Regions from separate parts of the Homo sapiens genome. Here regions 1, 2 and 3 are each linked to region 4. Evidence: promoter capture Hi-C in 16 types of primary human blood cells and fetal thymus (Javierre and others, 2016). All regions are on one chromosome and are shown on one strand. The core of a region is centred on a gene start or on the middle of the fragment in contact, and the rest is flanking DNA. Distances in the headings are between cores, read along the strand shown. Region 1 holds the start of HYLS1 (HYLS1 centriolar and ciliogenesis associated). Region 2 holds the start of LOC118567325 (a long non-coding RNA gene). Region 3 holds the start of DDX25 (DEAD-box helicase 25). Region 4 holds the start of TBRG1 (transforming growth factor beta regulator 1).

The links. Contacts are between HindIII fragments. The CHiCAGO score rates a contact against its expected background, and 5 or more counts as called.
Region 1: a contact is called between the fragment with the promoter of HYLS1 here and the fragment with the promoter of TBRG1 in region 4, in 5 of 17 cell types (non-activated CD4 T cells, total B cells, fetal thymus and 2 more). The highest score is 9.4, in non-activated CD4 T cells.
Region 2: a fragment that was not itself captured here is called in contact with the fragment with the promoter of TBRG1 in region 4 in 1 of 17 cell types (fetal thymus); the score reaches 6.6 in fetal thymus.
Region 3: a contact is called between a fragment that was not itself captured here and the fragment with the promoter of TBRG1 in region 4, in 3 of 17 cell types (activated CD4 T cells, fetal thymus and total CD8 T cells). The highest score is 6.9, in activated CD4 T cells.

What each region holds. Positions count from the first base shown.
Region 1 is chr11:125,884,322-125,889,451 of GRCh38, reverse strand. HYLS1 (HYLS1 centriolar and ciliogenesis associated) reads right to left here and starts at 1,784. Exons shown (of 3, transcript NM_001134793.2): 1 at 1,687-1,784. RefSeq lists silencers at 1,207-1,596, 1,697-1,746, 1,837-1,886 and an enhancer at 2,027-2,076. The HindIII fragment of the contact is 13,277 bases long and covers 1-5,130 here.
Region 2 is chr11:125,625,623-125,630,849 of GRCh38, reverse strand. CHEK1 (checkpoint kinase 1) reads right to left here. Exons shown (of 13, transcript NM_001114122.3): 1 at 4,838-5,227; 2 at 4,017-4,101; 3 at 3,020-3,243; 4 at 1,554-1,618; 5 at 1,390-1,459. The coding sequence starts at 4,081. It overlaps LOC118567325 (a long non-coding RNA gene), which reads left to right and starts at 4,956. Exons shown (of 1, transcript NR_170378.1): 1 at 4,956-5,227. RefSeq lists enhancers at 4,042-4,091, 3,652-4,195, 5,012-5,227. The HindIII fragment of the contact is 333 bases long and covers 3,671-4,003 here.
Region 3 is chr11:125,903,620-125,909,169 of GRCh38, reverse strand. It overlaps DDX25 (DEAD-box helicase 25), which reads right to left and starts at 4,662. Exons shown (of 12, transcript NM_013264.5): 1 at 4,590-4,662; 2 at 3,892-3,958; 3 at 3,573-3,617; 4 at 2,961-3,096; 5 at 882-974; 6 at 667-769. The coding sequence starts at 4,652. The HindIII fragment of the contact is 2,119 bases long and covers 3,133-5,251 here.
Region 4 is chr11:124,619,911-124,625,475 of GRCh38, reverse strand. It overlaps TBRG1 (transforming growth factor beta regulator 1), which reads right to left and starts at 2,612. Exons shown (of 9, transcript NM_032811.3): 1 at 2,243-2,612; 2 at 475-545. The coding sequence starts at 2,392. LOC124902779 (a long non-coding RNA gene) reads left to right here and starts at 2,275. Exons shown (of 2, transcript XR_007062932.1): 1 at 2,275-5,565. PANX3 (pannexin 3) reads right to left here. Exons shown (of 4, transcript NM_052959.3): 4 at 5,120-5,565. The coding sequence ends at 5,541. RefSeq lists an enhancer at 2,466-2,535. The HindIII fragment of the contact is 1,322 bases long and covers 1,498-2,819 here.

The sequences.
Region 1 (5,130 bases), core at 535-3,034, 1.3 Mb before region 4:
CCAGTTTGGCATTTTGAATCAGAATTTAAACTGTACCACAACTTCTAAGTCATAATCCACTTCCAGGAATTTATTCCAAGGACATAAATTGGACAAGAATGCAAACATGTATACATACAAGTGACCACTACCATACCATTTTATGATTATGAAGAGACTGGAAACAAATGTACATTAGTAGGGGACTGGTTAAATAATATATGATACAATACAGCCATAGCAACAAACGCCACGCATCCATTAAAAATGGTAATGCGTATCGACACTGACAGAGAAATGTGTTCCCAATTTATTACTGACTCAATAATGTATAATCTGCTTAACTGACGTTCTTTTAAATTAACATACTTTATTATATTTGTAACATGCAATTATTTAAAACACATTTTATAAGGAAATCACATAAATATAAGGTATATATTATGAATATATCTGAAGTAAACCTAAATGTGAACAGTGTTTGATGGTTATCTGTGACTGATGAAATTTCGAGTATTTTCTTTCTTCTTTACACGTACTAAATGTTGCTCGGATTGCTAAAAACATGTACATACTATGTTTGCATTCTTGTCCGATTTATGTCCTTGGAATAAACTCCTGGAATTGGATTATGACTTAGAAGTTATGGTACTACTTGAATTCTGATTTATGTTTTTCTTTTCTCTTTTTTTTTTTTTTTTTTGAGACAAGAGTCTTGCTCGGTCGCCCAGGCTGGAGTGCAGTGGCGCGATCTCGGCTCACTGCAACCTCTCCCTCCCGGGTTCAAGAGATTCTCCTGTCTCGGCCTCCCGAGGAGCTGGGACTACAGGCGCCCGCCACCAAGCCCGGCCAATTTTTGTATTTTTAGTAGAGACGGGGTTTCACCGTATTGGTCGGGCTGGTCTCGAACTCCTGACCTCACGTGATCCGCCCACCTCGGCCTCCCAAAGTGCTGGGGTAACAGGCGTGAGCCACCGCGCCCGGCCTGAATTCTGATTTATAATGCCAAACTGCCCTCTAGAAAAACAGATTATCCCCAGCACACAGGCCATAAAGGTGCTTGCTTTCATTTCTTCACTCTCTCAGCAGCATGGGGTACTGAAAAATCTTACCAATCTAAAAAGATATCTTAATGTTTTTCTTTGCCTGCTTAGTGAGATTGTATACTGTTTAGAATAAAAAAGATTTATTTCCATTTCGGGGTGGACAAACACCTTGGACGGTTCCATGCTGCAGTCCACAAAAGGTGCAGCTAGAAGGCGACAAGACACGCTCCGCCTTTCAACGGCAAAGCTCGCAGTCGCCCCGCCTGGCCGTGGGCGTGGCTTGGACCCAGGTCGCTAGCGGCCTTCGGGACTCCCCTCCAGCCCTGGGGCCGTCCCCGGCCTCCGCCTGGTCCCAGGGGCGCGGCCCAGGAGCTCAGAAAGGCCACCGGGGCAAAGACCGCGGCGGCGGCCAGCGCACACCGTGACCTCCAGGGGCTGCGGCCCGCCGCGCACATCGCCTGTAGCTCACGCTGCCCCGGCCGCCTCCCTCAGGAACGCAGACGTTGGGGACGGCTCGCCAGGCAGGACCTGGAATCCACGGAGGGAAGCTGCCACTCTGCACCGTCCCGACGGTGGGAAAAGGAGCGAGGGCTCCCGCCGCAGTGGGCCGGCAGCCACCAGGTCCCCGCGTCCCTCCGCTTCCGGCCTTCGCCCGGCTTACCCGCGTCGCGGAAGTCCGCTCTCTGCACCGCGTCCTGCCAGTCGCCAGCAGAGCACCGCAGATTCTGTTAGCTTTCGCGTAACTTGCGCAGGCGCACTGCCGGCCCACGCGCCGAGCCTGCGGTTAACCGCCGACCGCTGAGGTTTAAATCCGGAGAGCGAACCGGCACCCTTGGCCCGGTCCGCCCTCCCTCTTATTGGTCCTGAGGGTAAACGTCCTCCAAGTCTGTATCCTGATTGGCGCACATTTTGTCTGGGCCTTCTCCGCCGGCGGGAGCATGCCCGGGATTTCCAATGTGGCCTTAAAAATATCCGAGCCCGCCTAGCTGAGGCGCGCAGGCAGCAGCCGTTGCTGCGACGCCTCTGGTGTACTAAATCTGGAGGGGAGGTTGGGCCCTCGAAGAGAAGGAGAAGACCCTCAAACCTTGGCTAACGGCGACATAGCTGGCTTTTTGGAGAGGCCGCCTAACGGTCTGCCACTTCATTGGAATCAGCCTCCGCCCTTCTCAACTGGCTGCTGCGGGGCCAGTGGTGCCGGGAGACGAGGGCGGGCGCTCAGGGACGGTTCGAACAGTCTGGGGTGAGTCCGCCTGTGCGCTCTAGACGTTTCCTTGGGGCCTGAGAGAGCGGCTGTATGAAACCCTGGCGCACTGAGCTCTTCCTTTCCTCTGCATGGTGTGCAGGGCCCTGGCGTGACCCGTGGCTGCGTCTCCACAGCTCCTCCCACGTTACTCTAACTGTGCTCCAGCCACCGACTGCCTTGCTCCGACATGCACTTGTTTTCTTTTGGAATGTGCCTGTCTCCTTCACATGGTGTTACTCTCAACTTTTTTTTTTTTTTTTTTTTGAGACGGAGTTTCCCTCTTGTTGCCCAGTTGCCCAGGCTGGAGAGTAGTGGCGCGATCTCAGCTCTCTGTAACCTCTGCCTCCCAGGTTCAAGCGATTCTCCTGCCTCAGCCTCCCGAGCAGCTGGGATTACGGGCGAGCACCACCATGCCCGGCTAATTTTGTATTTTTAGTAGAGATGGGGTTTCACCATGTTAGTCAGGTGATTCTACCCCCTCGGCCTCCCAAAGCTCTGGGATTACAGTTGTGAGCCTCTGTGCCCAGCCACTAATTTTTTTTTTAAACCCGATGTTTTAACTCTTTTTGCATCTGTACCTGTAAAAAAAAAAAAAAAAAAAAAAAAAAAAATCTAGTGCTTGGGGATTGCTGAGGATGAGATCTGTAAAAGCAAGAGGAGAGGCCCTCAGGGTTCAATATCCTAGTCAATACCAAGCAAACCTATCTCAACTGGTCTTGAGTCCTGAGCATTGCATTTTCCACCTTAAACAAATAGGTGCTAGTTGTCAAGTTCATCTTACACCATTTCTTAAATCCAGGATTCAGTGGGAGGGGAGAAATGTTTAATCCTTTTCCTCCAAACACTTCGTATTATCTCTTACTCTCCCTCTTTGCCTCAGGGCCTTTGTGCTACCTCTAAGGCACTTTGAATTTGTGGGAGGAAGAAAATGGAAAGAACAAAGGAGGGAAGATGACAGAAGTAGGTTGTGGAGATTTGAGTGACTGCCCCTACATCTGCAATATCATAACACTCCTTTAGTGCAGCGGTCCCAACCTTTTTGGCACTAGAGACAGGTTTCATGGAAGACAATTTTTCCATGGCTCAGAGAGGGGGTATGGTTTTGGGATGATTCAAGCGCATTACATTTATTGTGCACTTTATTTCTATTATTATATTGTAACATATAATGAAATAATTATGCAACTCACTGTAATGTAGAATCAGTGGGAGCCCTGAGCTTGTTTTTCTGCAACTAGATGGTCCCATCTGGGGGTGATGGGAGACAGTGACAGATCATCAGGCATTAGATTCTCATAAGGAGCATGCAACCTAGATCCCTGGCTTGCGCAGTTCACAATAGGGTTCACGCTCTTGTGAGACTCTAACACCCCTGTTCATGCGACGGAAGGCAGAGCTCAGGCAGTAATGCCAGATGGGGAGTGGCTGTAGAAACAGATGAAGCTCCTACGGCTTACCCCCTGCCTTGCGGCCTGGTTCCTAGGTGCCTGTCCGTGGCCTGGGGGTTGGGGACCTTTGTTTTAGTGCATATATTCTTTTCTTTCCATAGGAGCAAATTTAATATGCTCAGGTTTTATCTTATGCCAGCATGACTTTTTCTTTGGCTTTGAATCTCCAATCTGTCTTAGAAACCAAAGAGTAGATGGAATCATTTTTCTTCCAGCTTTGAACATCAGCATTCTCCTTATGGATCCCCCAGTTCGTTTCTTTTTCTTTTTTTTTTAATTTTTTTTGAGACAGAGTCTCTCTCTGTAGCCCAGGCTGGGGTGCAGTGGCACGATCTTGGCTCACTGCAACCTCCACCTCCCAGGTTCAAATGATTTTCATGCCTCAGTCTCCTGAGTAGCTGGGACTACAGGCGTGTGCCACCACACCCAGCTAATTTTTGTATTTTTAGTAGAGACAGGGTTTCATCATATTGGCCAGGCTAGTCTTGAACTCTGACCTCAAGCGATCCGCCAGCCTCCACCTCCCAAAGTGCTGGGATTTCCAGCGTGAGCCACTGTGTGCAGCCCCAATTAGTTTCTGTTATCCTTTTTATTAAATTTTGATCTTTGAAAACGTTTAATACATAGCAGCTTGAAGGATCTACTCCTGAATATTTCATATTGCAAGTGGTATCTTGTGTTCTACCCAACCCTGGTTTTTTTGTGGATTGCTTAGTCCTCCAATTTTTCTTAGATCTGATTTAATAATGCTTGTGGTTCCCAGAAATCTACTGAACCCCGGTCAAACCTTAAACAAGAAACTTTAACCATGACCACTTAAAATACAGTATATAGAGAAAAATCCTACTCTGCAAACCAAATCTCATCTTAAAAATTTGTTATGGAAAATTTCAAACAAATGTTAAAAAACCATACATAATGAAGCCCAGTGAACTCAATACCAGATTCAGCAATGATTAACTTATGACCAGTCTTGTTGCTTCTATATCACCACATACCTTGTCTTGTATTATTTTGAAGCAAATACTGAGTATCTGAAATCTAAATATTTCAGTATGATCTCTGAAAAATTAAAGGACCTTTTAAAAGCATAACATAATACTATTTTTGTTTGTTTGTTTGTTTTTGAGACGGAGTCTCACTCTTTCACCCAGGCCGGACTGCAGTGGCGCTATCTCAGCTCACTGCAAGCTCCACCTCCCGGGTTCATGCTATTCTCCTGCCTCAGCCTCCGGAGTAGCTGGGACTACAGGCACCCGCCACCGCACCCGGCTAATTTTTTGTATTTTTAGTAGAGACAGGGTTTCACCATGTTAGCCAGGATGGTCTCGATCTCCTGACCTTGTGACCCGCCCACCTCGGCCTCCCAAAGTGCTGGGACTACAGGCACCCGCCACCGCGCCCGGCCAACATA
Region 2 (5,227 bases), core at 2,588-5,087, 1.0 Mb before region 4:
AGTTTCCTGCTATATTAAAAACATCACCACTGTGAGCATTCTTATATACGAATAATGTTGTATTTTTAAACCAGGTGGGTTGATATACATATATTTACATTTCATTATAATACATAAGAATTTTTGTGTACCTGAATTTTTAAAGTTTTAAATAAAAATAAAGATTTTTATGTCATATAAACTCAGTTTAAAGGGGTAAAAAGTAAAATCCATATGCACATAAGAAAAAAGCATGTATAGGCTGGGTACAGCGGCTCACACCTATAATCCCAGCACTCTGGGAGGCCAAGGGAGGCAGATCACTTGAGGCCAGGAGCTCGAGACCAGCCTGGCCAATATGACAAAACCCCATCTCTACTAAAAATATAAAAATGAGCCAGGTGTGGTGACTCAGGCTTGTAATCCCAGCTACTCAGGGGCCTAAGGCACAAGAATCACCTGAACCAGAGAGGTAGAGGTTACAGTGAGCCGAGATCATGTCACTACACTCCAGCCTGGGCAACACAGCAAGACTCTGTTTCAAAAAAAAAAAAAAGCTGACCATTTGTTAAGCACTATTCTAATACTAAGAATAAAGCATTAAACCAGACAAAAACTACTGCCTCATACAGCTGACATTTCTTTTTTGATTCTGACCCTGTAAGCTTAAAGCTTTCGCTATCCATCCTTCTCAATTTGATGACATTCAGAAAATATAACTAAATTTCTTACATTTTTATCCACGTCATACATAAAAAAAGAGTGAACAGGACAAGACTAAGGTCCAGGGTATTCCACAGGAACTTCCCTTTATTAATCCATTAAAGGATTATTTTAAACTATTCTTGGCCAGGCATGGTGGCTCACGTCTATAATCCCAACACTCTGGGAGGCTAAGGCTGGTAAACTGCTTGAGTCCAGGAGTTCAAGACTAGCCTGAGCAACACAGGAAGACTCCACCTCTTCAAAAAATCAAAAATTAGCCAGGCATGGTGGCACCTGCCTGTGGTTGGTCCTAGCTACTCGGGAAGCTGAGATGGTAGGATTGCTTGAGCCTAGGAGGTCAAGGCTGCAGTGAACTGTGATAATACAGTGCACCCCAGACTGGACAACACAGTGAGCCTGTATCAAAAAAAAAAAAATTATTCTTATACATATAGTGAGCTAGGCTTGCACCTAGGTCAGATTTCTCTACCTGATCCGCACTTGTATTGCAAAATGAGACTTGTGATTTCCAAATATACGAAGTCTCCAAAATTTCCTTGATTTTTCAGATCTTGTCTTGAAATTCCAGTAATGCAAAAAGACTTGATTTTGCCTTGTATGGCTATATTAAAATAATTAGGTAATTAAAATAATTTAGGTAATTATTTTATTTTATTTTAGGTAGTGATAAAATGCTAAACTTACCCCTTTCATCCAACAGAAGATTTTCTGGTTTAATATCCCTGTGAGTTATTCCAATACCATGCAGATAAACCTAAGAGGGATGCAGAGAGAAACACACTAGAATTTGGTAATGTAATGTATTCACTCTAATTTTAAGTAAAAGGGAAATAGACAACTATACCTACCACCCCTGCCATGAGTTGATGGAAGAATCTCTGAGCATCTGGTTCAGGCATGCCTATGTCTGGCTCTAAAACAAATATGAAAGTAAGTTTATTGACTAAATATAATCAGGTAGCAACCACATAGCTTCTTAATTTGAAGCTTAGACATTTACAAATGTGCTTAGGCAAACAGAAGCAAATGCCAACAAAAGATTCAGGAGTCCACTAACACATATGGGGCTTAACTCACATTTACCTGTGTTAGGTGGCAAAAGGCGTCATCACAGAAAAATTATAAAGAGAAAACCAATATCCAAATCAAGAATGCAAGCCATGACTTCAAAGCCTCTGCTTCCTCTTATACTAACCCTGATTTATTTAGTAACCTTGAAATTCCCCCCATTTCTTCTAAATGCTATGCTAATTATTTTTCTCATTCCTGAAATATAATGCCAAAGGGGAAGTCTGGGCAAATCTAAGCCAATTTCACTAAATATTTTACAGATTATACTTCTTTTATAATTTAACTTTTTTTAGAGATACGGTCTTGTTCTTTCACCCAGGCTGGAGTGCCCTGGCGTGAGATCATAACTTACTGTAACCTGGAACTCTTGAGCTCAAGCAATCCTCCTGCCTCCTAAGTAGCTAGGATTGCAGGCATGTACCACCACACCTGGCTCAGATTTAAACTTCATATAGTCTCACAGTACAAAACCACAAATGCCTGTGAGGTCCTTCGTGAAACAGTTTTATTATGAAAGTTCTTTTATCAGTTATCTTTTTATATTTTGATCTCTCTCATTAACTCCATTTCTTTTACCCTCAACTCTCTCCTGAGTCACACTGGAGATCCTAATACCTCTTTATCAGTTTTTAACTGATAAACTTATTTAATACAATAGCTTTAAATTATAAATTTAAATTATAAATTTAGATCCAGATTTTATGTACTTCTCAGTGTTCTGAAATATCAATCCTTTGATTCTACATCGAATATTTAAGTATTAATAGCAAACATAGAATTTACTTAATATACAAAAAGCAATCCTAGAAAATTCTCAATTATTTCATGTAAACCAAGAGGAAACAGCATGCTATTTTAGATCTGTAAATGTATAAAATGTATACAATGATTTCATGTAACTAGAATGTCTACAAAGAAAAAATTGTGTAGGCAATACATTGCATTTAGGATACACTGCATTTATGATGTACCATAAAACTTGTTTGTCACTCTTAAATTCTGTAAGACACCAATCTTAAATCAAAATCACTTATATAACTTGGGAAAGAAGTTTTCTTTCATTGACTCTATATATGCTTTTATGTTATTAACACCAGGTGGAAAAATTTTTTAAAGATAATGTATTCCAATTTCACAGTTGCATGAGCAATTTTGAAAGGACAACGACCAAATAGCATGCCCAAGATTTAAAAAACAAATTTAAAAACTTGTTTAAAATAATTATCTTAAATTTCTTCCATACCTATTCTGTCAAAAAGCTCTCCTCCACTACAGTACTCCAGAAATAAATATTGGATATTGCCTTCTCTCCTGTGACCATAGAATTTTACTACATTTTCATGATTTAGCATTTTATTGATACAGATCTCTTTCTTAATATTTTCTGGACAGTCTACGGCACGCTTCATATCTACAATCTTCACTGCGACTGCTTCTTCAGTTACTCTATTCACAGCAAGTTGAACTCTAAAAAGGAAAAGAGTTTTAACATTACAGAATTCCATTTCTTCTAAAACTTCCAAAGATTAAACATGACTCATCCAAAACGATTTTACCTCTATTACTTTTTCCACAAAGGAGAAACCAAGGAAGTGGTTTCTGCTATGTTCTCAACACACACTACTCTTTTCTAAAATGTGAAATACAATAGCTAACCCTCCAAAGACGTCATTATGCTGTCACACAAGTCATTTAATAAACGCTTCATAAAATAGATTGAGATAATTCTAAGCCACATCACATATATACATGTTCTACTCATATACTTTTAAGAGCATTAATCCCATACTATATGTGCTTGTGTAACTGACTGTCCTAAGCTCCTATGGGGTAGATGCGATTATTGCCACCCTAAAGGTAGTGAAGGAGAGGTACACAATGACATTAAGAAGCTTGCCTAAGATCACAAAACAATGACCAGTATGTGATAGAGCAAGGATCTGAAACCAGGCAGGCAATCTCCAGAGTCTGCTCATTTGCTCATTAACCGCAATGCTTAAACCCTGAGAAGCAATTTGTGGGCATGGAAACAATAACTTCGTGTCCCTTCCAGCTCTCTACAAAGAAAACTTTTTTTTTTAAAGGGAAGGAAAAAATTTTTAATCCTAGCAAAAGGCTGTGTAACTTCAGTTGCCAAAACCCTTGGATCTCAAACATCTACTTTCTAAATCACCAGAGTGTGAGACTCCAAAACAATGAATATGCACTCAGAAAACGAAGGCAAGCTTAAAAGAACTCACTCTCCATAGGCACCTTCTCCCAGGGTTTGCACCAAGTCCCAGTCTTCCACAAAGGGCACTGCCATGACTCCACCGAGCACCTCGGCTGTAAAAGGCAGGAATCCAGAAAAGATGTAGAGTGTAAGATCACCAGTGAAGCCACTGAGCCCCGCCTCTCCCCAGGATTGCCCACGAAAATTAACAGCTCTTGCCTTCCCCTTCTATCTCATCCACATTTATCCAAGTCTTTCAACCACGAACAACTATTCTAAACCTGACCATTTTGTCGTGTAAATCACAATCGCCACTCCCAAGCACACCGAAGGTTGAAATTCTGCCCTCCTCAGGCCCCAGAGGAAATTAATTGTTGTTATGAAGAGGTGGGAGACAAATGCTTTCCGGCGAACGACTGGGGAAGGAGGAGGGAGAGGTGGGGGTCTGGGGAAGAGAGGAAGAGGATATAGGGAGCGGTATGGGGCAGAAAACGCCTGCGGCAGCGCCTCCTCCCAATTGCTCAATTCCAATTCCCATCCCCATCCACAGCCCCACCCGTCCCAAAGGCCGGGGCGGGGCCAAACTGCCCCCAGAGGCGAAAGGAAGGGCTGGGACTCTTCCTTGGGGTTCTTAGCTAGCAGCGGGTTAGTCCCTCCTGCCCCCGCCCCCACAACGGGAACCTCCTGGTACCATTCCTCCACCCTCCGAAACCGCCCCTCCGCAGGAGTCTCTCCAATCCCCTGCGCTAGTCAATGCTAACTTTCTCCCACCATGCCCTCCCTCACTAATCTAGACCCCGAACTCCTTCTTTAGAAACCTTCCCTACTCTACCGGCCGCCCTTCCTCACCGGACTGTCCTTTGCCCACCACTGCAGGAATCCAAATGCAGCGCTTTTCCCGCCAAAACTTGAGGGCGTCACGCTGCCGCAAACTCGCGCACCCGCGCCGTAAAGCAAGACAGCGCGCGTTCCCGTGTCCTGCCCCTCTGAATGTCGGCGGCTCCAAAAGGGTGACGTGGAGATGTTGCCGCTCCCGCCCAGGGCTGCTTTGCAGTCGGGGAGAGATCCTGGCTGAAGAGATTTAAGGACGGCGGACCGCATCGGCGCGAATTGAGCTCTGGGCCCAAATATGAAGTGGCATCCGGTGTGAGGCTCGACTGGGCGGTGCTCGAGCGCTGCTGGGGGAAGCCCAGGCCTCCAAGCCTCAGGGGCGCGCGACCGACCGCGCTGCGCTTCCAG
Region 3 (5,550 bases), core at 2,943-5,442, 1.3 Mb before region 4:
TGTCAAGCAAATAGGGAGAGACGACCAGATACTTTTCATGAGTGGAAACTACACTAGGAGAATGGTAAACCGGGTACCAGTGCCAGTCTTGACTCAGCCACTCTCTGGGGACCTCAAGAAAGACACTTCCCTCTCCAAGCATCAGCCTCCTCCTCTGCTAGAGTGAGGTGGACTACCTGACCTTCTGGTCCTGCAGTTAGATGGCTATAATTATTGCATGCTTAATTTATGCCAGGCACTGTGCTAAAAACGTAAATTACTTCATTAAATCCACATGATGACTTTATTCAATGTTTAATGAGTGGTTTCTACAAGCCAGGCACTGTGCTAGGTATTAGGATTTAAGGGTGAACAGATCAACTATGATACATTCCTTTACAGATGCTATCTTTACAGACAAGGATTAACAGACTCAGATTTATTAACTTGCCTAAGACATTCAGTTAGTAAGTGGGAGGCTAGCATTGAAACCACTCAAGACTATAAAGCCTGTCCTCTCCATCACTGTCCCATGCTGCTACCCAATGCTCTATGATTTTATGAAAACATGTCTTTTCTAAATATTTCATCACCATAGTAACCATATCATTGCACAGGAATATCACCTATTACTAAATTAGCACTGGTAGTGCAAGCATTCCCAGTCTTCTCTCAGCCTTCCCTTACCTGTGGGAACAATTCCAAGGCATTAACTCTGCTTAACATTGCCAACACAAATGCCGCTGTCTTTCCTGTTCCAGACTGGCTCTGTGCTATGAGGTTCTGGGGTCTGTAGAAAAGAGAAGACCACTGGGCATAAACTGAATACAAGAGAGTGGGCATAAACTGAAAATAAGAAACTAAACATAACCAAGTAGAATACCACTACCCTGGAAACTCACGGATGTGCCAGCATCATAGGGAGAGCCATCTCTTGGATTTTAGATGGCCTATTAAATCCCATTGCATAGATTCCTTTTAGTAACTCTTCCTTTCTGTCAAAAAAAAAAATCAAACACTTACAGATTATAGTTGGTCAGTAGCATCAGAAATACATACCTGAAAGGTGCATTTCTAAATTAAGTCACTTTGCAGCTGAGCTTTAAAACTAGTATTTGGAGATAGATCATTCATACCTCAACTTCCAAACATAAACAATCATGCCTGTAGAGCTGGACCACTAAAATAATAAGCTACGCCATAAGCCTAGGCGAAGGACAGTGGTAAAGGCCTTAAGTCAAACCTTCTGTTGAACAAAGCAAAAATGGAAAAACTCATCGCATAAAAAGAATATATCTGCTTGCCAAGAGAGTTATATTTTCTGCCTAAGCAGAAAACTAAGTGACATTTACTGTTTTGTTCCTTTTCACGAACGATATTGACATTTTTAACAGTAATTTTCAGAGAAGACAAATTTTTATTTAGGTGATTCTTATATTAGTTCTTTCTAGGAGTAGAAGACACAATATTACTCCATCCTTCTGAGGCAATATTTTAAAATGCAGCTTTCCTGAGGGTCTTAAGAAAAATGCCAGAATGAGGATAAATCAAGTGGACTACAACACTTCAACTTTTTTTTTTTTGAGACGGAGTCTTGCTCTGTCGCCCAGGCTGGAGTGCAGTGGCGCGACCTCAGCTCACTGCAAGCTCCACCTCCCGGGTTCACGCCATTCTCCTGCCTCAGCCTCCCGAGTAGCTAGGACTACAGGCGCCCGCCACCACACCTGGCTAATTTTTTGTATTTTTAGTAGAGACGGGGTTTCACTGTGTTAGCCAGGATGGTCTCGATCTCCTGACCTCGTGATCCGCCCCCCTTGGCCTCCCAAAGTGCTGGGATTACAGGCGTGAGCCACCGCGCCCGGCCAACACTTCAACTTTTAATGACATGCACATTTGTGTGTGCTTAATTGGTAGAGGACTGGTAGCCCATCTTAAATCATGGGTAGGCTTCTTCTACCATTTAGAAAATGTCTGGGAACTAGGATTTTGGATTTTTACCCTTTACATAAGTAGGTTTCAGTGCTTTTCTCGTTCTGTAAAAATACATTTTTTAGCGTCAAATGATAAATCCCTAGGGAATGCAAACCCATTTGGGAAAGTTATTCAGTTTAATATCATTTGAAACAAAATATAATCAGGAAAGTAAAAGTTTGTGACTTATCTATAGTGGGTGAAGGAGGATGTCTGGGTCATCAGAATCTGGGTTCTGATATGGAGAGGGGCAATCTGGCTGTGCCTAGCTTAGCTATCTATCCCCCTGAGCACTGCAGGATGAAAATATCTTACTATCAAAAATGTTCTCAATTTGCCAGGCAACTTGAGTATCCTAATGTTCTTCTTTAGAATATCCTTTTTTTTTTTTTTTTTGAGACGGAGTCTCACTCTGTCACCCAGGCTTGGAGTGCAATGGTGTCTCGGCTCACTGCAACCTCTGCCTCCTGGGTTCAGGCGATTCTCCTACCTCAGCCTCCCGAATAGCTGGGATTACAGGTGCGCGCCACCATGCCCGGCTACTTTTTGTATTTTTAGTGGAGAGGGGGTTTTCCCATGTCGGCCAGGCTGGTCTCAAGCTCCTGACCCTCGGGCGATCTGCCCTCCTCAGCTCCCAAGTGTTGGGATTATAGGAATGAGCCACTGTGCCTGGCCTGAGCTATATTTTGATTGCATGGAAAATGTACAAATCTCACTTTAATACTGAATATTAAAAATTAACTGGGCGTGGTGGTGCATGCCTGTAGTCCCAGCTACTCGGGAGGCTGAGGCAGGAGAATCGCTTGAACCTGTAAGGTAGAGCAGTGAGCCGAGATCGTATCACTGCACTCCAGCCTGGGGGACAGAGTGAGACTCTGTCTCAAATAACAAAAAAAAATATTGAATATCAGAAAACAAAGAGGAGATCCTGATGGTTTTTACTATAAGCAGATGCGTTTGTTCTGTGGTTTTCAGCATTTTTCCCATATTAAAAGAGTAAAAATACTCACAGCCGCAGCTCTTCAAATGTCTTTACTGAGTAAAGTGGAGAGCTGGGATCCTTCTGTAAAACTTCCACACGGTGACTGGATTCTACTAAGGATTGATGGATTAACTTGTTTAAGAGTGAATTAGCTGCCAAATCCACTAGAAAAGCAAAAATAAAAAAGAGGACATCAAGCTTCCTGAATGACATCAAATAAGTTGCTCTTTCTCTTTCAGTGGTTGTATACCAAGCAATTGCACCTACGCTCATTTTTCCTCTAAAAGAGGGTTCCAGAAAGAATGATATAGCACTGAGGATTCGTTCTTTATGAGGATTCAGTTTCTTACGCTCTGTTACTTCACCATCCTCTAACTTCAAAGTAGCCTAAGTCCATCTCCATGAGACCAAATCCTTGACAGATGGAAGTTCTGAACCCAATCCCTGCATATTCCATTTCAACTTCCTTTAAATAAATACACCTTACTCCTAATTTAGTGTGTCTCCTGATAGTCACTATAAGAAAACAGAAGCAAAGACAGGCCTTTTCCAATTGAGATTATATTATTCACTCACACTATTAAAGTTATAAACGGAAACAGAATGCTAGTAGATACATGCAAATGAATTCATCTCCTACCTACATCTTCTTCATCATCTTCATTGATGTTATTAATAGAACCATCTGGAAAGGATGGAAGAGAAACAATACAAGTAAAGACAAATGCTGAGCACAAATGTAAAGCATGCTATTCAATTTTTTCTTCCTGACTCTTCAGTGTCTACTGGCAAGAAGAGTCATTTCATGGAGGAATGGACGAAACGATTGGGAAGGTAATGGAGAGTGCTGAATGTCACACTAATGAATCCGCGGTGTTTCACTTGGCAGGGACGTGATGAAAGCAAAACAATACTTTTTAATCATTGAGGTCGCTCTGCTTTGCCCTAACAGCACTCACCTATGTTTCGGACTGCAGTACTCTTAATACCCCAAAGGTTCTTCCGGGGTTGGCTGAGGTTTGAAAACTATTGAGAGACACAAATTTCAACCAATATTAGGATGCAAGCCCTCAAGCAGCCCAGTGCTTCCCTACCACAGGGGCTGGGAGGGATTCAGGGAAGGACACCCGGGTATTGCTTCCTTTGCAATATTAGGTAGCAGCAGATTCCTTTCAAGGTTGGGTTTCCTGTATGAGTTACCCTAAAATTGGAGATTTTCTGTATTCCCTGTACATGCAGTTTCTCTTTCCTAGGCCTCTAGTTTAGAGTTGGGCAGTACTTGGGGCTCACGGCACCAACAAGGGGAGGGTGGCTAGGAAAGTGCGCTGGCAAATGGATGGAAGCGAGGTGAGGCTTAATGGGCAAATGGGCAGAGTAGAAAACTCGGGGTCTAGCTGGGACTACCAGCTGCGTTCCCACCCTGGATTTCCAGGGGTCGTCATTTTTGCCCTTTCTAACCAAAGGTCTTGCCTCTCGTGGGGGTGGGGACGGGGTCTCCCTCTGTGGCCCTCTTCCAAACCCTTCCCGCATCTCCCCTCCAGCATCTGACGCCCCACTTCGAACGCTCGCGGGCTCTCCCTCCCCTCCCAGCCGATCTCCCTCTGCGAGTGGGAGCTCCACCCCCGCGGCTGTGGCCCCCCGGCTCGGTGGCGGTTACGTGGCTGTTCAGCCGCTCGCTCTCCGCCGCCCCTGCGTCGCCTCCCCACAGTAACGACGCCATGGCTGCGATTGCTGCTCCCGCCCCCAGCACGTGCTTCCACCACCGGCGCGAGGCGGTGCTGGCCCCATCCGCTGGCCAATGGGCTTCCTTAGGGGGCAGGCGTCCGCGTCCGCGCCCGCGACCACCGCGGTGCGGCGCGCAGGCGCTGGAAGGCTGGGTGGCGCGCGGAAGGGGCGGAGGGCAGAGAGCGGGGCGGGGGGCAGAGAGCGGGGCGGAGGGCAGAGAGCGGGGCGGAGGGCAGAGAGCGGGGCGAAAGGGCGCGGACCGGAGGGCAGAGGGGGCAGCTTCCGCAGAGTGGAGAGCGCCCCCCGCGCCGCCCCGCGGCCCGCCGCTCACACAGCCCTCCAGGCGGGAGCCCCCCGGACTCCCCGCCGCGCTTTACGCCCCGTGTCGGTTTCCCTGGAAATTTCCGCCTCCACATCACAAGATGTCAGAAAGGTTAGCGAATTGGTTAGCAAAGTGGAGACAAAATCTGATGAATTTGATATGACGAATGACCTCGAATGCCACAGTTGCGGAAAGGAAGCAGAACTGTTCAAGCTCTAACTGCTGTTCCTGCCCTAGATACCTGTGATGTTCCACATAGGCTTTTTAAAGCTTTTATTCTGAAATGTGGTCTCTTGTTAAAAACATTACCTTTCGGTATAACCTCTACGTCCTACATGCGTTTGCATAATCCGGTATAGATCCCTGGATCCCTGGTACTAATGATTTAATGACCGCTCAATTTGGACGAAAGAACCAAATTCCACCTCCCCCCCGCCCCCCAGTTTTCTAATTGTAATTTTGAGATTTTGATCAGCATTTCTGGAATTGGGGGCAAAAATACAAAAACCCACACGAAACTGCAGTCATGATCTCTCCGTGGTGCTGAAGCAACGCTCCCCGCTCTGTTCGG
Region 4 (5,565 bases), core at 1,363-3,862:
GTAGCTTATCTCTTGCATCTGGACGGTTCCTCTACCTTGATGTTGGACGGTGTTAGGCTTCTGAAAGGCACATTATTTACACATGTATATATACCCATTGTGCTTTGCACAGAATAGTACGTACAGAATAAATATTTGTAGAACGAGAGGCAGTTGCTTTTATCACTTGGCTTTTATAATTGGGCCATAAGATTAAATAATCTTAGTAAGATTATTTATTAGATGTGGCAAGATGGCTTTTTCAGAAAGATGAGTAGAGGAGCTGTCTCATCGCCATGGCCCAACATAACTTGGGTGTGCAGGCACCAATGCCTCAGGCTGTAAGTTTCTCTGTGCTTGATCAAGTGGCCAAGGGGCTGTGCGATACGCATCAATCCCACTGGGAAAAAAAGTCTCCAGAGCAGTAACACCATTATCAATCACCAAATCAATCACCAAAAAGGTGATGCTGAACACAAAATGAAGCCAGCTCACCTTCTTTCTTCTTTTGCTTTAAGAAATTTTTCCTCAAGACGAGCAATTTCATCACAAATAGCAGCATTTTCCTTTAAGTAAAAATGTGAATATAATAACATAAAATGAATAAAAAAATCACATTATTATGCTGGGAAGAGGATCCATATTTCAAACCAAAAAAGCTTGTATTACTGAGAAGAAGGAGCTATTCGACCGTGTGACAAACTATAAATAAATCCATAGATAAAGGTAGTCAGGTTCTACTATGGACAGGGTATAGCTATGTAATTTATTATCCAATCCGGGACATCTTTGAGTGAAAAGGGGGTACTATTAATGCTTATGCCAGAACAATACGGTGAACCAGGACTGTCCTGGGCAAGCCAAGATTAATGGTCACCCTAATTAGTATAGCCTTTGGCAAAGAAAAAGGCATACTGCTTAAATCCTTATATGCTTAAATTAAATACTATAAATATGAAAACTGTCTATTCCCAAGTGCCTCAACTCTTGAAAAACTTACAAAGCCAGTCTAACCCAAATAGAGAAAAACTGGACAGAACAAAATCAAATTTAGTGTGTAAAATTCTTAAACTTCACAATCTACTTATACGAATTCAAGTATTATCTTTTTTCTTTTTTTTTTTTTTTTTTTTGTAAATGATGACTCAATCTATCTCCCAAGCACCAATCCTGAAGGGAATGCTGAATCTGAATGCCCCCATAGGTGGAACTTCAAACTCTCAATGTTCAAAACAACATCGCTTTTTCTTCACAAAATCTTCATTATGTATTTGATGGAACCAATATCCTTGAAATAACATAAATTCCAAGCTTTAGGTACCTTTGACGTATAGGGGATAAAAGAAAGGGAACAGTCAATCAGATGCTAAGTTCTCTTAGTTTTACTTTTCTTGTTTCTCTCCAGTGCAAATAGCAAGCAATACACATAGCAAGTGCTGAATAAGTGCTTTTGGAATGTGTATTCTAATTTCTGAACCTTTCCTTATGCTTCCAAAAATGCTGAGAGACGTTCAAGCTTTTGGTAGAGAGAAGAGATGAACTGTTGACTTGGATGTGGGGGGACATTTGAGGACTCCACCCCTATTTCCAAGCACTGAGGCAAGCCAAACTATTCTAATATAAAGTTATGGCTGGCAAGCTATATTAAGTTTATTCACTCAATAAATCCAGTGCTTCTACAATAAAAGAAAGGAAGAAACACTTGGAACACTCAAAGGTTAGAGGGGGGAAATTACTGACAGTTTCATGTACCTCTTTGGGCAAAGGGTCAGTTATGGGGATTTGAGGTGCTCAGAAAATAGTCTGTGTACTGGAAGTCATAAAACGGAATCAGGTTTATCTAAGTTGGAGTCAGGGCTCTGACACAGTACCCTTGGGCAAATCATCTCTCTGGGCTTCAGTGTTCTCATTTTACAAATAATGCCTAATTCTCAGGGCTGTATCTCGAGAATCAAACACATTTCCTAGAGTCCTGCAGTAACAACGATGACTAAAATTTATTGGTATGTCTTTTACGCACCAAGCACTTTTCTTTACTCATTTAATATTCATTATTCTGCAAGACAGTTACTAGCTCATTTACAGATGAGGACACAGAGAAATTACGTAATTTGTCCAAGGACACAAGGCTAACAAGTAGTAACGTATACGGAAAAGCCAACACTGTATTAATACTGTCACACTGGGAAGGGGGAACAGCTTGGGGAAAGATTTTGTGAGGGAGTCTCCAGGAGGGGACCGGCTGAACGTGGGTCAGACTCACAAACACCGTGGCCTTGGCCGCTTTGCGCAGCCGCAGGTACTTCAGCCGGTACTTCTCATTCTGGCTCTTCTTCGGGAGCTTTTTCATCCTGGCCTTGCTGGACTGCAGCGGAGCCCGCGGCGAGGAAGCGAGGCCGTCCAGCAGGCTCATGGTCCAGCCCCGCTACGGGGGCCCCAGGACGCTGCCGGCATCGGATCCTAAGTCGGGGAGCGGGCGGGAGCGCTGGCTTTGTCTGTTCCGGGCTAGCGGAATCGGGCCTCTAGGAATCTAGCTCTCCGGGACGTTCCCAGGGCTGACCGCAGGGCCAGAGACACCCGCAACCGAACGGGCTCCCGGCGCCTCCCAGCACTTCCGTGTCTGTCTTGGAAGTAAGCCCTTCCCGGAAGTTACGTCCCGGTGTCGGCAGTGTGTAACTTCCGGGGCAGGGAGAGTAGGGTGGTCTGGGCGGTGCGATCGTGGGCACCGGGAGGAAAGAGACAGCTGGGGGCTAGTGCTGGATGAGGAGAGGAGGGAGGGCCGGCGGCCGTGTGCTTAGCTGAAGGGTACTATAGTTGAACCAACGAACTAACAAGAAGCTTACCAATGCGAGCTCTCATTCACGCTCCCCCGCTGGGCCACTGCGTTTTAATACGTTTTTCATGCTTCGTGCAGACAGGCTTTCCCAGACTGTAGGACAAAGTGAGCCCAAGTGCTGGGACTCTGCTTCTTTCCCTGCTTCGTTCCTTTCTGCAGCTCACAGAAATGTGTTTGCAGGGCCTCCTAATGCTATCATCTTCCCAGGAGCTGGGAACACAGTAGTGAACAGGAAGAAAGGCCTTGGCTCTTTCTAGTAGGGAAGATGAGAGATTTAACACGCAGTTTTAATACTAGCACTAAGTAGGCACTCAGTAAATGTTTGTCTAGTGAAACCAGAAGTGTATTTCTGTACATAATATGTACATGTATATGGTTCTAACTTTACAACCAAGGTCTATTTAAAATTAGGGAAGATAGAAAAATCTTTAGGGTGCGGTATTGGTAAGTGACCCAGGCTGGATGGCAGAAGGCTTGCTTGCATCTTCTTCCAGCGATGCCAATAACTAGTTCAGTAACTCTCTAGTTTTTTCTCTCAAAAAAAAAATTTGCTGTTCTGCTGTATTTTGTCCTTGCGGGCTTTGGGGTCTGACTTTATTTGTATTATTTATTTTCATATACATGTATCACATCTAGGGGGAAGAAAAGTGCTATCCTTTGTCCTAGTTTGCAGGCTGTTTTGGCCAATGGACTTTAGTGGGATTTGCATGAAGATATTTTTTGTTTCTTCTTCATTGGACACATTTCCTTACACTTACAAAACATTTCATTCGAACTTTAGAAATTTAGAAAATATAGTACAAGAAAGGTTTAAAAATCCATAATGCTACCACTTGGAATGAACTACTTTTACCATGTTAGTATATGTGTCTAATATTTTATGCATTTTTGTATAGGTTAGACAATACTGAAAATAAAGTTTTCTTTTTGTTCATTTACCATTGTATCATTTCAGTTTCACAAATGTTAGTATAGCTTCCTTATAAGCATAATTTTAAGTGGCTGGTTAATATTCCAGTTATGGCTATATTATATTTTGCATAATTATTTCCATGTTCTTTGACTTTTTGGTCAATTCCATTAAAAGCATATCTTTGCGTCCAAAGCTTTTTCCATATAGGACTGTTCAGAGGCTGGATATGTGTGCTCCACAAAGGTCATGCCACTGAGCAACTCATTCAGTCCTTATTTGTTTAGAAGAATATTTACCTAGTGCCTATTATGATACCACCTTTAAGAACCTTAATTTAAGAAGGAAAGACAGACAAGTAAATTGGCAATGTTAATATGGTATAATAAGTTTGTTTCAGAGGTAGGTTTTATTTTATTTGGCAGCACTCAGGGAAGGAGGGAGGAGATAGGAAAGGTTTCTTAAAGGAGATACATCTGGGCAGACTCTGAAGGAGAGGTAGTGGTTGGTTGGCCCAGTGAAGAACAAAGGGGGGCATGCTGGATGGTGGAGACAGCATATGCAAAGGCTCAGTATGGGAACTGCAAGTAGTTGATCAGTGTGAAAGATGTGTGTAGAGAGAAGCAAGAAGAGAGACTGAAGCAGTAAGTAGGGTTTTTTGGGTCATGAAAAGTCTTGTGTACCAACTGAAGAGTTGGACTTTGACCCAGTGACAATAGGAAACCATCTATCAGCTCTTTGCTTGTGTTAGGTAAACTTACCTGAATCTGTCAGAAGCAACACAACTTTTCTACTTAACTATACGAAGAAGGGTCTAAATGGCCTATGCAAAAATTCTTTAAAGAAATGCATAATGTGTAGCTCTAAAAAGAAATATAAAATGGCAGACAGCATGATATTGTGTCTGAGTGTGGTCTTTGAAGTCAGACCAAAGTTCCATTAACTACAGGCATAGGAATGGGAGTTAGAAGCTAAAATAGGGTAATAAATCAGAAGAGAAAGAAGTTCAATAGCACTTTACTGTCTACCCATTTGTAAGTGCTTGCTATTCAGTGATTAGCTGTAAGGGAAGGCATAGTATCCTCTGGAGTATTAAAAGCATACCTGGCTCCGTTAACAGTTGTGAAGAAGTCCATAGCCCATAATCCCAGCCCCTGGTGAAATGAGTTCCTGGTTTAGATGGTGAAAAGTGTATCTGGGCACCTGAAGGCTCCACTCACGGCTGAGACATGGCCCCAGCCTTGTTCTACTATGTCCTTACATCCTAAGAGCAGATTACAAATTGAAGCCATCATCTCCCAGCACTTTGGAGGCTACAGAGGACTTGGACAAGGTTGATAACTTCTACAAAGCAAGCTGGGTAAATTCCTAGGATTTCAGGCCACACCAAAGGGTTTCCAGGGGTTTACATCTTTATTAATCTTTTGCCAGATTGCCTCACTTGCTCTCTGGGGTAAGCTGAATGTGCGTTCAAGAAAGGATATGGAATTGCCTCCATAAACGGACTTTAGAATCTTCTTTCCTTGCAGCATGTCTAGACTGTATTTCTTTTTATTTATACTATCCTCATAGAATGTTCTAGACTTAATTTTTTAGCTCTTTGACTCTTCGGCTCCAGCTTTCACATTTATTTCCATGTCTTGGTTATGTCTTCTCACTTTTAGGATAACATGATAAAAGATATATGATTCAGTTAAATCCAAGCTTAGCAGTTTTAAAATGTGTAATTTTTTGGTGTGTATGTGTATTAGTGTGCATGTCTTATGAGGAAGGAGAGAGACTTTCCACAAGCTTTCTTGCTCCATGGTTTCTTAACTATGGGTGTTCATCACATGCCGAG